Regions from separate parts of the Homo sapiens genome. Here region 1 is linked to region 2. The links are contacts of gene promoters, found by promoter capture Hi-C in blood cells and fetal thymus (Javierre and others, 2016). All regions are on one chromosome and are shown on one strand. Each heading gives the region's core, a stretch centred on a gene start or on the middle of the fragment in contact. The rest is flanking DNA. Distances are from core to core; before and after follow the strand shown.

The links. The method cuts DNA at HindIII sites, captures the fragments that hold promoters and counts their contacts. A CHiCAGO score of 5 or more calls a contact.
Region 1: a fragment that was not itself captured here is called in contact with the fragment with the promoter of TTC7B in region 2 in 1 of 17 cell types (megakaryocytes); the score reaches 6.1 in megakaryocytes.

Annotation. Positions count from the first base shown.
Region 1 is chr14:90,899,579-90,903,351 of GRCh38, forward strand. It overlaps RPS6KA5 (ribosomal protein S6 kinase A5), which reads right to left. Exons shown (of 17, transcript NM_004755.4): 9 at 3,230-3,391; 10 at 1,033-1,158; 11 at 530-663. Among named protein-coding and RNA genes, the nearest start is that of LINC02321, 73 kb to the left of the region's middle. The HindIII fragment of the contact is 2,511 bases long and covers 556-3,066 here.
Region 2 is chr14:90,814,693-90,818,129 of GRCh38, forward strand. It overlaps TTC7B (tetratricopeptide repeat domain 7B), which reads right to left and starts at 1,738. Exons shown (of 20, transcript NM_001010854.2): 1 at 1,483-1,738. The coding sequence starts at 1,603. RefSeq lists a silencer at 1,732-1,911. The HindIII fragment of the contact is 10,969 bases long and covers 1-3,437 here.

The sequences.
Region 1 (3,773 bases), core at 561-3,060, 85 kb after region 2:
ACACACTAGAAAAAGTAATATTCTGGAGAAAATTATTATTTCTGAGTCAGAAAAGTACAAATCATATGAGGAAATGAATGCTCTACTTTCCTGACAATTTAGAGTAATAAGAATATGCAATCTTAATAATAATCATCAGTTACCAAAACAACTAGATGGCTCTCAAAGCTATCAGTAGCTTGCTAAATAATTTTAGAGAAAAATATTTCAAATACACAACTAGTAGAAATGGCAATGGCTGCCAAAATCACTATGTGAGCCTGATTAAATATGTCACTGTCACAAAGACGTTTTCTCTAGATAAACTCAAAAGCAAATAAGACTATGATTTATGTCTAAAATGGATTACTTTATCAGAAAATATCAATTAGAGCTAAAAGTATAATGGACCAACTGATGAGCCAAGTGGTTAAACCTTTGGGTAAGAAAGTCTTACAATATAATACTGGTTTCAATTAAAATAAATATCTTTTAATTTACAGAATTCATGAATACCTAAGAAAGAATATTATATTAAAAATGGTCATACCTTTTGCTGATTATTTTGACTGCAAAAGCTTGGTTACTTTTTTTATGCACACACTTTCGACAAATTGAAAAACTACCTTCTCCCAGGGGTTTGTCCTTCAAATCTAGGTCATAGTGTTGATAGAATGGAGAGTCCTGTCAAGAAATCAACATCATTTAACTTCAGAAAATGTCAGTAATACACAAAGGATCAATAAAATTGTAGAGTAAAATAAAATTATTAATATTAATAAACAGGAATAGAATACATTTATAATCTAAAATTCATCTTTATAGGTAACTTCTATTTTCATCTAAATAATTATTTAAGATACATAATTCTCTATAATTGTAAAAAGAAGTTCATTCAACTTGACGTTAATTCTCTAGGGAAAATATTGCTATATCCCACTTTTAAAATTGCACTTTAGTTGAATTACTAGACTTAAGAACATTAATTAGAGTTGGTATTTAAACACTCACAAAACCTACAAATATGTCATATAAGTTACCACATCTATATACCTTCATCATTGCACTCCTGGCAACATTTGTCACTCCAGGACGTTCAACTCCCATGTGAAACTGAAGAGGGTCTATGACAGCTGCATTACGCTTGAATAGGATGGAAGGAGCAACAAAGGAATAGCCCTAAAAACAAGACAAAGAAAGATAAAGAAAAACAACTTGCAGTTTTCCAGTTTAACACAGATTAGATTGTAATGACTTTTTTTCCTTAGAAAAACACTCAAATATTTGTTGAGATGAGTCTAATTTTATTTTATTTGCAATCTAAAATGCAAGGTTATTTCAAATCATTTGAAAAATGCTGTTCAGAAGGATATAATGCCATCTTCTGGTAGAACTAAACCAATTCAAAAATAAAGGTAGAAAAAGACTTCTTCCCTATTCCACCCCCAAAATCAGACTCATAGATGAAATTCTCCTGGTTTGCTGATGAAATTTGTTTACAAACATAACTAACTTCTCAAAAAAGGATACAGTCAAGGTATTAAACAAAGTGGTCTTTTTTTTTTGAGATTGAGTCTGGCTCTGTTGCCCAGGCTGGAGTGCAGTGGTGCGATCTTGGCTCACTGCAACTTCTGCCTCCTGCGTTCAAGCCATTCTCCTGCCTCAGCCTCCCAAGTAGCTGGGATTATAGGCACATGCCACCATGCCTGACGGGGTTTCACCATGTCTCGAACTGGTCTCAAACCCCTGACCTCAAGTGATCAACCCACCTCGGCCTCCAAAAGTGCTGGGATTAAAGGCCTGAGCCACCAGACCCAGCCACAAAGTGGTCTTTAAATGCTATTGTTTTTCAAACTGGAAAAATGGCAAGTCTCACTAAAGTTAGTTTCTAATTTAGCAATTATTTGATTCTTATTAATATCTTCAGAATAATTAAATTTAAAATTGAGTTTTGGAAAGGAACAAAGTCTAATGGCAGAATGATGCTCTGAGCTAAGTGGTACAAAGACGGATGATTAATCCGTTCAAGCTAGAACATTCACTAATCAACAAACATTTAAAAAAATGTTCAATAAGTGCCCAGTCACATACTAGACAGTGATAAGCAAAGAAGAAAAGACACCGTCTGGATGGCCAGATTAAGCCATACTAAAGGTATACTTATAGAAGTCAAAGAAGCAAAGCTCTGATGCCATTTAATAGTTAGAATATTTTATCTTGTGTGACAAATGCCCTTTTCTAAATATAAAATCTAAATCTTTTTTTAACAGCAGTTAAGATTAATTACTGAAGGTAAAGAATAAGGTAACATTGTGAACTAAAGAATGTTTTTATATGGGGGTTGAGGGGCACGGTGGCTCATGCCTAGAATCCCAGCACTTTGGGAGGCCAAGGCAGGAGGATCGCTTGAGGCCAGAGTTCAAGACCAGCTTAGGCAACAAAGTAAGACCCTGTTTCTACAATTTTTTTTTAATTAGGTGGGTGTGGTGGCATGCACCTGTGGTCCCAGCTATTCAGGAGGCTGAGGCAAGAGGATCCCCTGAGCCAAGCAGTTAAAAAGGCTGCAGTGAGCTATGATCATGCCACTGCACTCCAGCCTGGGTGACAGAGTGAGACCTTGTTTCTTAAAAAAAAAAAATTTTTTTGGCTGGACGTGGTGGCTCATGCCTGTAATGCCAGCACTTTGGGAGGCCAAGGCAGGAGGATCACTTGAGGCCAGGAGTTCAAGACCAGCTTAGGCAACATAGCAAGATCCTATCTCTGCAAAAAATAGAAAAATTAGCTGGGTGTGCTGGTTTGCACCTGTGGTCTCAGCTATCCCAGAGGCTAAGGTGAGAGGATCACTTGAGCCCAGGAGTCTGAGGCTGCAGTGAGCTAGGACAGCACTGCTACACTCCAGTCTGGGCATCAGAGTGAGACCCTGTCTATATAAATAAAAATTTTTAAATATGAATAGAGGTAAAATAAAAGATTATTGTATTTTCTATAAAAGAATCTGAACAAAAATAAAATTTCAGGTATAAAATTAAAACTTCCCTTATATCAAAAATAAATGCATAAACAATATCTGCTATTGAGCAAACTATAAGCTTCGGTTAACAATGTGCAATATTTCTGCATTTAATAATTTAGAGGATATTAGAGAATCCCATTTTTATGATGCCAACAAAACTACTTCAATATGGGAAATTTAATCTTTTCTTTCAAAGGACATATGGCCAATGTGCATGTGCACAGGATGGGAAATTACCTGAAACAGCTTCTCAGAACTCTGGGGCAGGGCTGCGGGAGAATAAGTGGGATCCATTTCTGTGAACTCTTCTGCAAAGTTACTCACATCTAATTCATCTCGAATGACTGGCTTAAATGGTGCAGGCACTTTTTTGGCGGCTAAATCATCCCAATTTATTTTCTAAAACAAAGAAAGTTGGTACAAAGTAGAAATCAATAGTCAAAATGTACTTTCTAAGAATAACAAAGATAAATTAGGATTTTGACTGGTAGGGAGAGAGGATAAAAATAAGAGAACATATTTCAAATCAATAATAAAAAACATATTTTCTCCAAACAAGATCACAGCAGTTTATAGCTCCAACCAATGCTGTGCCTCAAAGATGAGACTATCGCTGTTGAATCTCAGAGTGTCCTCTGGGGGGCACCAAGACACCCTAGTTTACCTTTAAAGACAACAGAAGAATACTTTTGTCCTGAGCCTCCTCAGAAAGGTGTTAAGCCAAAAAGAAAACAAAAAACCCAAAACAAAATAAAAAACTGAAATAAAGGGTTTCCAAAGG
Region 2 (3,437 bases), core at 488-2,987:
CCGAGAGGAAAAGAGAAAATGCTGCAGGTAAGCGGAGAAGCAGGTGAGCCCGACACGGAGGGCAAAGGCAAGCTGCCTCTGGGGCCCAGGGCACTGAACACCATCTCCTCAAAGGCTGACATAACTGAGAAGGGTCCACATTTTCCACCAAGTGGAGCCCGTGTAGGGTCGGTGCTATCTCCATGCCCCTGACACACCATGGCACCTGCGTTCACCCAGAAGGTACCTGCCCACAGCATGCATCCATCATTGAGAGTGCGCAAAACCAAGTTCTAATTTCCAGGCACTAATACCATAGGACACAAACATAAACCACCCTCCAGGAGGACACCTGACATCCCTCTCCTTTCTGGGTAGTCTGAAGTGAGAAGGTTGAAAATAGTGCAGATGTCCTTTCTTAGAGCAGCCCCGCCATCCATTCATTCACTCTTTCATTCATTTGTTCAGCCAACATGTGCTCACTGGGCCTGGGGAAGCCCAGGATGAAATGAGACAAACCCTCTGCCCTCTGGCCACGGTGTGCTGGTGCCTGCGCTTTAGGCGGGTACTAAAAGACAAGCAAATATTAAAGATACTCGCTTCCAAAACAAATAAGGCCACGTGGAGCTGTGCACTGGAATGGGATTCTGGATGCAATTTTATTTGATTGGGTACAAGAACCAATCCAGTTAAAGGGGTCATGAACCAACTCCAGGCACCAGGCTCCTACTCAGAGGCTGCCTCAGACCCCCTTCTGGCCCAGGCACCAACCCCTCACCCACCCAACTCCATCTCCCGACATTCTTCAACCACATTCCCATCTCGCTCCACAATATTCTCCCTCCAGGTCCCCCTGACTCTATTTCTCCTCTATTCCCAACCCTGACCTCTCTAGGTCGGCAGCCTTGATGCTACTTCTCCGAACGCCAGGACGCACATCCCAGCCTGCTTTCTACCACCACCCCACACACCTCGAGTCTGCGCTTCCACCCAGAACCCCTTAAACACCATATGTTTACAAACCAGATTCCCCAGGGGTCTATGTACAACACCCCATTCTCAAGACCCCATAAACACATCCTGATTCCCTGAGCACACCATACACACACTGTGGACTTCACCCATGTCCTGAGGGACCCCCTCACCCCATCACCTCCAACTTCTTGGAAGCCCCAGGCCGGCCCCTGACCTCCTGTGGTCCCAGTGGAGCAGCGGACTCGCTGAGACCCCCGGACACCCCAGACTCCGCAGAAGCCCGCCCTGCACGCTTGAACCCCAGGCGCCGGGACAGCCCCTGGCGCCCCCCCGGGCCCCCACACCGCGTGACTCCGGGGCACCCGGGCTCCCCCAGGCCCCGGTCCCGCGCACATCCCCTGGGCCGCAGCTCCCTCGCGGCCCGGCCGCGCCCCTGCCCGCGCCCCGCGCCCGGCCGCGCCTCGGGGGCCCGTTCCCGCGGAGGCCGCGGCGCCCCCCGCAGCCCAGGCCGGCGCGCCCGGAGCGTACCGTTGGCGATGAGCTTGGCCGACAGCTGCTTGACGAGCTCAGGGATCCGCTCCCACTGGCACTCGGAGCGGCAGCGCTCGATCTCCGTCTCCAGCCGCGAGCCTGCCTTCTTGGTCGCCATCGCGGCCTGGCCGGGCCCGGCCGCCCGCCCCGCAGGCCCCACCGCCGCCGCCGCGGCGCCCCCTCGCCGCCTCCCGCCGCCGCCGCGGGCTCGGGCTCCGGCTCCCGGCTCCGCGGCGTAACGGGAGCGCCGGCTGGGGAAGGGGCGGGGAGGCGGGCGGCGGCGGCGGGCGCGGCGGGGCCCCGGGCGCCGCGAGGAGCGGCCCCTGCCGGCCAGGGCCGGAGCCGCAGCACTGACCGGGGCCGGAGCCAGGGCTGGGGCAGGGGCGGGGGCTAGGGCGGGAGACAGGGGCCCGAGGGAGGAAAGGCGGGGTGGGCATGGAGGACAGGGAGAGGGACTGGGGGTGTCTGGGGCGGGGTGAAGACCGAGGGGAAGTGGGGATGGGGGTGGGGGAGCGGGGTAGGAGAGAGATCTGACCAAGGGCGGGTGAGGGGTCTGGTGGGGTAGGGGTCTGGGCAGGATGAAGGGGAGGGAGAGGATCGGGAGGGAGCTAGCGACAGCCTGGGAGCGGGTTGGATCCCCAGGAGTAGGGCCAAGAAAGGGCAGTGACCCTGGGGAAGGTCACCGCCCGGTGGGACCAGTGAGCCAGGTGTGAGGGGTGGGGGGAGGCCTGCCCGAGTTTGTCCTGCCATCTCAGGTGGCCAGCGGTTCCCTGGGGCCCGGTTGGCCTGTGCCCCTTAGCAGATGCCCCTCTGCCCCGCAGCCTTAGCCCCTACCCAGCCAGAGGTGGACGGAGACTCCTCCATCCCAGGCAAGGCACAGCACCTGCCAGGGGTGCCCTAGATGGCTGAGCGGAGCCAGGCAGGGGCTGCCACTCTCACACGCCAGCTCTCGGACCCCCTGAGGGGAAGGCACAGTCACTGGTGGGGCCTCCTGTCTTGGCCACCTAGACTGAGACCTAGGGAGGTGTCCCTCTGTGTTCTCTCAGTGAATCAACTGTCTAGTGATCACCTACTATGTGCTGGGCGCTGCTTTAGGTGCCAGAGATAGAATTGTGAGCTAAAAAAACAAAATTCCTGGCTTGAGAGAGCTTACATTCCAGTTTGGGGGAAAAATAAGCAAAATAAAATAGTAAACTAGACTGTAAAAATGGCTATTTGAAGAAACAGGGAAGGGTTCAGTGAGGAACATAAAGAGTTGGGACAGGCGGGTGGCTCATGCCTGTAATCCCAGCTACTCAGGAGGCTGAGGCAGGATGATTGCTTGAGCCCAGAAGGTGGAGGCTGCAGTGAGCAGTGAACGCACTTCAGCCTGAGCAAGTGTTGCCATTTAAAATGGAGCAGTCAGGGATGGCCTCACGGAGGTGGCATTAGACTTGAAGAAACTAAGGGGGAGCCATGAGGATATCTCTGGGGGAGGAGTATCCCAGGCAGAGAACACCACAAGTGCGAAGGCTCTGGGGTTAGAGCACACTGGGTGGGATGGAGAAATGGCAGAGGCCAGAGGGGCTGGGTGGAGCGAAGGAGAGGGGCCGAGGCAGGAGATGAACTCTGAGAGGTTGGGGGGAGTTCTGTGTAGTGCCTGGTGGGCCATTATAAGACCTTGGCTTTTGGCTGGGCACGGTGGCTCACGCCTGTAATCCCAGCACTTTGGGAGGCCGAGGTGGGCGGATCACGAGGTCAGAAGATCGAGACCGTCCTAGCTAACATGGTGAAACCCGTCTCTACTAAAAATATTTTTAAAAATTAGCCGGGCGTGGTGGCAGGCGCCTGTAGTCCCAGCTGCTGGGGAGGCTGAGGCAGGAGAATGGTGTGAACCCGGGAGGCGGAGTTTGCAGTGAGCTGAGATGGCAGCACTGCACTCCAGCCTGGGCAACAGAGAGAGACTCCGTCTC